Linked DNA regions of Homo sapiens: region 2 is linked to region 1. Evidence: promoter capture Hi-C in 16 types of primary human blood cells and fetal thymus (Javierre and others, 2016). All regions are on one chromosome and are shown on one strand. Each heading gives the region's core, a stretch centred on a gene start or on the middle of the fragment in contact. The rest is flanking DNA. Distances are from core to core; before and after follow the strand shown.

Region 1 (4,101 bases), core at 247-2,746:
TTGTGTAAACACACACTCCCAGCAAAATGACAATAAGCTTCATAATATCAACAATATAAGAAAAAAAATCACATTATTCCTTAAAAAATTATTCATAATTCGTTTGAGAGTTCAGAGGACATCAGATCTAATCAAAAGAAGTAAATGTTACTAAGACCCTCTTACTGGCTTTGTATCCCACCGTATATGTGATAAAGTTGTGTTACAGCCCAGGTGTATACACGCTTTCATTGATTTATTGCACATTACTGGCTTCAGTGCTGACTTGATGACAGGAAGAGTACTTTGGCAGAGGTCTGACAAGTCCCTATCCTTAAGTTCCCTTTTGCTTTGTGCCGTCTGTTCCCAAAGCTATCAAAGTAAAGCAAATGACAGTCTAAAACCTCCCCGTTTTGCCACGAGAGTGTGAAATCAAATTAAAAACACACCTCAAAACTATTACATTGGGCCACGTTTATTTTCAATTGGCGGGGGAGGGGGAAAGAAGACACTTAAAAAGAGATGGATTTCATGTCCTCTGTGTAGCCAGATCTAGTTACAGTGTATTAAGTTATGTCTAAATGAAAAAAAAAAAGATTCTCAAGTGTTTTATCACAAAGTAATGTTATTAAACACATCTAGTGTTCCCACGCTCTCCTCTAGATTCTTTGATTTTTAACCTCCTTTGTTAGGCACCAAACACTGGGAGAAAGATTTCAGGAACAATACCTAGGCAGCACATGATGCCAGGGAATTAATTCTGTCTTCCCCGAGCTGTTTATCCATCATAAACTCAAGCTGCCTTATTTAGCTACACGGTTGCTATATGTAGGACTTCTCTTCCCTGGGTGAAAAGCATGGACCGGCTACAATTGTGTCTTTGAGCGCGCAGCATCGTGCTTTGTGCTGCCGGGGATAACGGATTCTGGGTCTCACACGCATCCGTCACCTAAAACACCCTTAAACTGAACCAGGGTCTCCACAGCTGGAAGGGAAACAACGTGCTGGGACCCAGGCTGCTCTGAGCTACAAGGATCCCAGGAGTGAAGGAAATGTTTCAGGGAGCAGCCCAGGCAGCGGGGGGAGGAAGAAAGCCCTCGCACTCTTACCTCCACATTGAAATACTGCTCCGTTCCGCAGACTGTAGCACATAAAATCCAAAGCAAGGTTTGCAAGAAAAACACCCCCGAATGATGCACGAAATCCAACCGTCTTCCAGTGCTGAATGTGAGTAAGATCATAGTGAACTGTGCTTCAATGGATGGACGAGCTCCCCTTCGTTTTCTCCCTCTCTCCCTCTCCCTCCCTCCCTCGTTTCCTTTCAAAAAAAAGTCCTCCGGGTGGGTAAGGAGCCTGCAGGTTCACCCACAGCCGGGCAAGGGGAGGAGACAGGGGCCCCGCGCTCGGCAGCCCCCGAGAGGCAGCGGCGAAGACAGGGTCAGCAGTAGTTCCTGTTCACCATCCTCCGGGGTCAGTCACCGGGAACGTGGCGCCTAAGTTCACCGGCGGTTCCGGCTCAAAGAGCCTAGTCGCAGCCGCAGCAGCAGCAGCCGCCGCCGCCGCCGCCGCCTCCAGCCCGTGCGTCCTCCTCCTGCACTGCCTACTCCTCCTCCTCCTCCGCCGCCGCCGCCGCCCCCAGCTCCTGCGGGAAGGGCCTCCGCCGCTCCTCACTCTCTCGCCTCTGCTTCTCCTTCCCTCCTCTCCTCGCTCCCCTCCAGAATGTTCATCCGTAATCTACATAACTCCTCCTTCCCGGGGTCTGCCTGGCTCTCGGGGCCCTTGGCGCGCGCGCGCGCGCGCACACACACACACACACACACACACACAGAGACACACCGCGACACACACACACACACGCGCGCATACACACAGCCCGACACACACGCACGCGCGCTTCTTAAAGGAGACGGCTCATAAAGGATTCCCCACTACGGTAGGGCGCACCGGAGGTATCCAGCCCGCGACAAGGGCCCTGGTTTGAGCACAGCTCTTCGACAGTATCTCCCATCCCGCATCCCCGAGGCAGGCACCCAGGAACTTGGGCGGCTCCATTCTTTCTTCCCGCCCACCCTGCCGCCTCGCATCTAAAAACGAGTGCGCCCCTCTCCAGCCATGAGCTGGGTGGGGCTCAGGCTGCGGACCCTAGTGGGGCCTGGGGAGCGGCCCAACCCTGGTCCTGGAGAGCGGTCGGCATTCCTGAGGAAGCGGCCCTGGAAGAATAGGGGCGCTGGGAATCAGAGGAGCGCCTGGTCACTGAGCGCCCCTGGGTGGCTCGGGTCGGTGGCCGGGGCTGACCAAGTTTGGGAAGACTGAGATAGCAAATCCCGAACGTCCAAAACTTTGTTGGGGTCCCGAGCCTGTGGCCTGGTGTCTTCCTGAATCCCCTCTACCATAGCTACATTCCGCCTTCCAGGCTTGAGGAGTAGGCACAGGGTTTTGGTGGCGGACTAGACAAATACAGAAGCGGGATGAAAACGCTCACTTTCCAAGTGAACGGTGGACACACGCGCACAGTGGGACCCGGGAGAGATGGTCCTGGGTGTTAACAAAACATCCGATGAGAGGGATGGGGGCGCTGGAAAGAAACCGGCTGCGGGAGCCAGGGGAAGGGTTGGGGAAAGAAGGAGAAGAAGCAGCCTGAGGAAAGGCGAGTAAAGCAGCTGGCAAGGGCGGGAGGAAGAGGCTGCTCGCAGACCGAGCGGGGGAGAGGCTGGCGGGAGCTAGGAGAGCTGCAGGCAAGAGGGGGAGGCGGCTGGCAAGAAGCACGGGCGAACGCGGGCAGGGAACTTCAGAGGAGGCTGCCAGAAAGGACTGGAGCTGTAGCAGTGCGAGGCAGTGGACAGGGGGGGCAGCAACCACCAGCCCTTGGCAAGTGATGGTTTGGCTGAAAGAGGAAGGGGGAAGGGAGCGAGGCAAGCATCTGTTTGGGGGCTAATGCCAGTAAATGTGCTTCTCCTTGGCAGCCAGCAGAGGGGAAGAGGAGCCCACGGGAAAGAAAAGCAGGCGAGGTTAAGAATAAAGAGTGTTCCAGGTATGACAGCTACCTCGGTGAGGTGGAAGAGAGAATTGACAAGGCAAATTTCATGGGTGAGTTGGAAAGGCAAGAAGCAGGACTACAAGAGGTCCTATGTGGTAAGCAGATGGAAAATTCTGAGAATGGTTTGCCAAAAATTGTATTAGACTGCAATAACTTTTATCCAATAAAAGAAAAAAAGGCTGAGGAATGGGACTTTGCAGCTGTTGCTGTAAAAATGTAAGAAATGCCCACCCAACTTGACCCAAGACCCAAGAAGTTCTCAGGGAGACCTTCCTGACAGTCTGCCTTGTGCCCAGCATGTGCTGCCCACAAAATAATTTTGAAGATGTAATAAAAAGCAATGTCTTATATTGTATAGTACATTAGAATATTCAGAATGTTTCCAGACATAGTATCTCATTTAATTCTCACACCATCTCTGAGGATTTTGTTTTTATTTTACAGATGAAGTAAATGATAGCAATAAAATATAACGTTCCAGCAAACCATACAAGTGGCAGAGTTCAGACTTTTGTTTCCTGACTCCCAGTTCAGTGATTTTCCTGCTATACTCCAGTGACTTTCCAAATGGAAATTCATTCCTGCTCTTAGCAATTTTATAATCCATAGGTTGAGATGATTTTTTATAAAAGAAACAGCTAGAAGGCAACATGAAAGTAATGTCATTATATAGAATTTATATGGTGTTCTGTGCCAATATAAGGTAACGAAATGTAGTGAAGTATTTGTCAATAAATCAAGAATGATTTTTATGTGTGCATTATATCTAGTAAAGTGCAAAATTAGAGAGGGAAAATGATACAAAAAAAATGTTTAAACTCAGTTCCTAGTCTTTGAGATACTATTGAAGAGGAGGAGGTAAAAATTATTTACCAAAGACGTTCATGAGAAAACAGTGCTAAATGGTGATGTCCTTGCTAACTGAGCCAAATATTAGAAGACTGTATCAAGGACATGGAGTGCAAGTTGAGCACTGCAAAACTATCAGTAAGGAGGGATTTTTCACCATAAGCAACTTGGTTTTCTTTCTTTCTTTTTTTAAAGCATGTGCTCAGACAAGAAAAATAGTGTATTTGTGGAGGACA
Region 2 (3,921 bases), core at 90-2,589, 500 kb before region 1:
GGCAACCACTCATATCTTGGAGAAGGGCATGGAACATTCTCCTTCAGAGCACCGAGAGGGAACCAAACATGCTGACACTTTAATCTTGGATTTCTAACCTCCAGAATTGTGGGTAAATAATTTTTTATTGTTTTAAGCCCCCCAGTTTGCGGTATTTTGTTATGGCAGCCTAGGAAACCAACTAATAAGCTATCTTGCCAAAAAAGTCTCTTGATATCTAATCTCAATATCTCATATTTAATTTTCAGCAAAATTGTACTAACCAATTTTATACACTTTAAAACTGAGCAAATTTATTCTTTTTTACAAAAAAAAAAAGCCTATTGTGAGTTTTCATAGACACTCTTAAAGAATTTATCTTAGCTCCTTTAAGTTTTTCTCATTCCTATATATCAGAGAATCCAAATTTTAGAGTATGTTTTTGTCTATTTTGTTATGTATGTTAAGTCTAGTTTAATCAGTAAAGTCAATCAAAAGCTACATTCTTCTAATTTTCCCTTTAACTTTGTTACCCCATTACTTGCCTTCAAATCCCATTAATATGTCTTCTTAAGATATAGACTCCATAGTCCACAAAGGAAAATAATTGTCATAAATCAGGAAGAATTCATAGAGTTGAGGTTTCACTTATGTCAACATAACCTCTATTCTTGATCCCAATTCATTTCTCATCAGCCAAACTTCTCAGATTTTAGATATCAGCATTAAGTTCAGAGTACAGGTGCAAAGGGTCTTCCACAATCAATCATACATTTTGAAATAATTTCCTAGTTTAGTCTGGCCGAATATACTGCTGACCTTCAGATCCATAACAAAAGAACCATTTGTTTAACCAAGATTTTGTCAGACAAGATGAAGGAATTAGCTGGAAGTCAAGAACATGACTTCTTTACTTATTAAGATTAGCAATACAAATATACAGAAGCCCAGCCAATCCACATATCACTTACAAGACTTTGTTAAGAAAATCTATAGAAAACCAAGAAAGAATATAGGATACATATAACAATATATTTTATTTGTTCCGTTATATGACATTTGTGCTGCATCATGTTTAAGGTTTTCTATAAAAACACATTTTAATCTCTTTGCAGGAGAAATAAAGAAACATCATGACACCATTTGAAAAAATAAATTGACACTTAGATTTGGCATATTTAGTCAGTTTTTAACTTCAATGCTTAGAAAGAATGGTGTTAATCTCTCTTTTCTTGTCACTGCATGCTATATAAGGAACAGCAAATTGCTTGTATAAAGTTCAAACTAAATATAAAATCGTTTTGTTCAGAACATGCCTTTACTCAGTGGTTAGGTGGCATTTTCTAAATGAGCCCTCTAAACAGTATTGAAGAAATTTTCTCTAAAAGAACATTTTCTACCACTTGAAAGGTCATTTTATCTTGAGAATTTTTCTGTCATGCTTGTGAGTGCACTATCTACCTGCTGTAGGGCTTTTTGACCTCTACCAAAAAGAAATGGGCAAATTTAATTTCTTGATCGTAACTCACACGTGCTACTCTTCCTAAGAGTCACTGTTAATGTAAGGTCATTTTATGTGGAAAATGAGTTAAAAATTTGGGTATTAAATTGCTAGAAGAGCACTTTTGATCTCTACTTTCCATCCAATAGTCTTCTATTATAAGCAAGAATAATAAAGCAATGATGAAGAGGGCATGAAAAGCACAAGAAACCAAAATGGCAGCAAGCCCCTTGAGCAGTGGTTCTCAATTCCAACTGCACATCAGAATCAGCTGGGGCATGCTGAAAAATACCAATGCCTGTGTCTCACTCCTAGAACTTTTGATTTAATTAGTCTGGGGTGGGGCCCAGGCAGTGGTATATTTAAAAGCTCCATAGTAATTCTAAAATGCAACCAGGTTTGGTACTCACTTTCTAAACTAGAAAAATTATCCTCCATTTTTTTCCTTGATCACTGAGATCTTTGACAATTTGTTGAAAGCTCTGGCCATCTCCTCCCAAGTCATACCTTAAAGCCAGGGAGATTACGGACATCCACCTCTTAATCCTTATCCAATGATGCTTTTAAAAGAATTGGGCATATGCCCAAGTCTCCCAGTGAGAATCTATAGTTTAGGGGGAAAATTAAATGGTAAAAAAATATAATAGTAGTCTGGATCCAATCAGCTCTAGAACCATTCAGTGATTTAATTAGGGGAAGGTTAATATGAATCATAACTAAAGTGATAAAAGAGTAACTGGAGCCAGGCGTGGTGGCTCACGCCTGTAATCCCAGCACTTTGGGAAGCCAAGGCGGGTGGATCACCTGAGGTCAGGAGTTCGAGACCAGCCTGGCCAACATGGCGAAACCCCATCTCTACTAAAAATACAAACATTAGTCAGGCATGGTGTCAGGTGCCTGTAATCCCAGCTACTTGGGAGGCTGAGGCAGGAGAATTGCTTGAACCCAGGAGGCAGAGGTTGTAGTGAGCCGAGATCGCACCATCGCACTCCAGCCTGGGGGACAAGAGCAAGATTCCATCTTAAAAAAAAAAAAAGAGTAACTGGAGATATAATGAAACTCTGTATGGTATCCTAGGGCTGAGGGAGAGTACATAAGGAAGGATGAACATGGAAAGAGGATCCCTCCATAAGACTAGGGTACAGAATAAGGTTGAACCCACTGGATAGCAGCAGTTTGCTAGTTTGCCAGATGATGTGGTTTGGATTTGTGTCCCCACCTAAATCTCTTGTTGAATTTTAATTCACAATGTTGAAGGAGAGGTCTGGTAGGAGGTGACTGGATCATGGAGGTGAAGGTGAACTTCCCTCTTGCTGTTCTCATGATAGTGAGTTCTCACAAGATCTGGTTGTTTAAAAGTGTGTAACACTTCCCCCTTCTCACTTTCCACCTTCTCCAGCCACATAAGATGTGCCTGCTTCCCCTTTGCCTTCCACCATAATTGTAAGTTTCCTGAGGCCTCCTCAGCCATGTTTCCTGTACAGCCTGCAGAACTGTGAATCAATTAAACCTCTTTTCTGTATAAATTACCCAGTTTCAGGTAGTTCTTTATAGCAATGTGAGAACAGACTAATACACCAGACTATAGCTGATCTGTTGTTATGGAACAGAAAGCAAGCAACACTCCAGGAAGCAGGAAAGATGGAGGAGTCACAGCTGGTGATTGAAGTGTCAGTGGAGTGGAGGCTCCAACTTGGCTGGAAACCTAGAGAACAGGATGTCCATATGGGAAGGGCTGAAAAGGGAGATCCCTAGGATACTCTGGGGCTGCAAGGTCAATGTGTATTCTGGCCGTGTGGCTATGGCGGAACTCCACTAGATGTCCCCGCACCCACACCACCAGCCAACCATATTGCATCAAGACACCATAAGCAAAGGCTTTTTTCATGCAATGTCCCTCTAGCATCTTCTTCTAAGAAAGCTTAACACTCTGTTTAGTTTTAAGAAGAAATGCATAAAGGAATTACGCAATCTATTATGACCAAGAAGGCCTTAACATTCCCCGCAGCTTCACTAAACTTTCAATAGATTTCTTCTGGACTCTAGATATCTGACTTCCCTCTTTTTAGAGCATTTCCTTTAGAAAACTTGCAGTTGTAAATTCTTTCTCTGCTCCTTTGAGATGTAAATCTTCTCTGGGCTTTTGCCAGTTTCACAACACAGGACTGTCTTTCTCAGGGACCTGGGCACCATTCCTTTGATATGTACTCATCAGGAGAAATAGCACAGCACCCATAATTCTCAGTCCTTATGGGAAGGAAAGATCCTAACTTCTCTAAGTGTAAATTAGCATATATGTGTGACGTAATCACATTGACAAGCTTCCCCCTAACTTTTCCTCCAGTACTTTTCCACCAGCTCATTCCAGCACTTAAACTCTCCCAGTTTTTGTATCTACGGAGTTCAGCTCAAGGTCCGTATCCTATTGCAGTATTCTTGAA

The links. Contacts are between HindIII fragments. The CHiCAGO score rates a contact against its expected background, and 5 or more counts as called.
Region 2: a contact is called between a fragment that was not itself captured here and the fragment with the promoter of MMP16 in region 1, in 1 of 17 cell types (endothelial precursors). The highest score is 6.7, in endothelial precursors.

Annotation. Positions count from the first base shown.
Region 1 is chr8:88,325,987-88,330,087 of GRCh38, forward strand. It overlaps MMP16 (matrix metallopeptidase 16), which reads right to left and starts at 1,497. Exons shown (of 10, transcript NM_005941.5): 1 at 1,089-1,497. The coding sequence starts at 1,220. It overlaps LOC105375630 (a long non-coding RNA gene), which reads left to right and starts at 1,858. Exons shown (of 8, transcript XR_001745653.3): 1 at 1,858-1,912; 2 at 2,943-3,111. The HindIII fragment of the contact is 7,293 bases long and covers 36-4,101 here.
Region 2 is chr8:87,828,994-87,832,914 of GRCh38, forward strand. No RefSeq gene overlaps it. Among named protein-coding and RNA genes, the nearest start is that of DCAF4L2, 43 kb to the right of the region's middle. The HindIII fragment of the contact is 4,120 bases long and covers 1-3,399 here.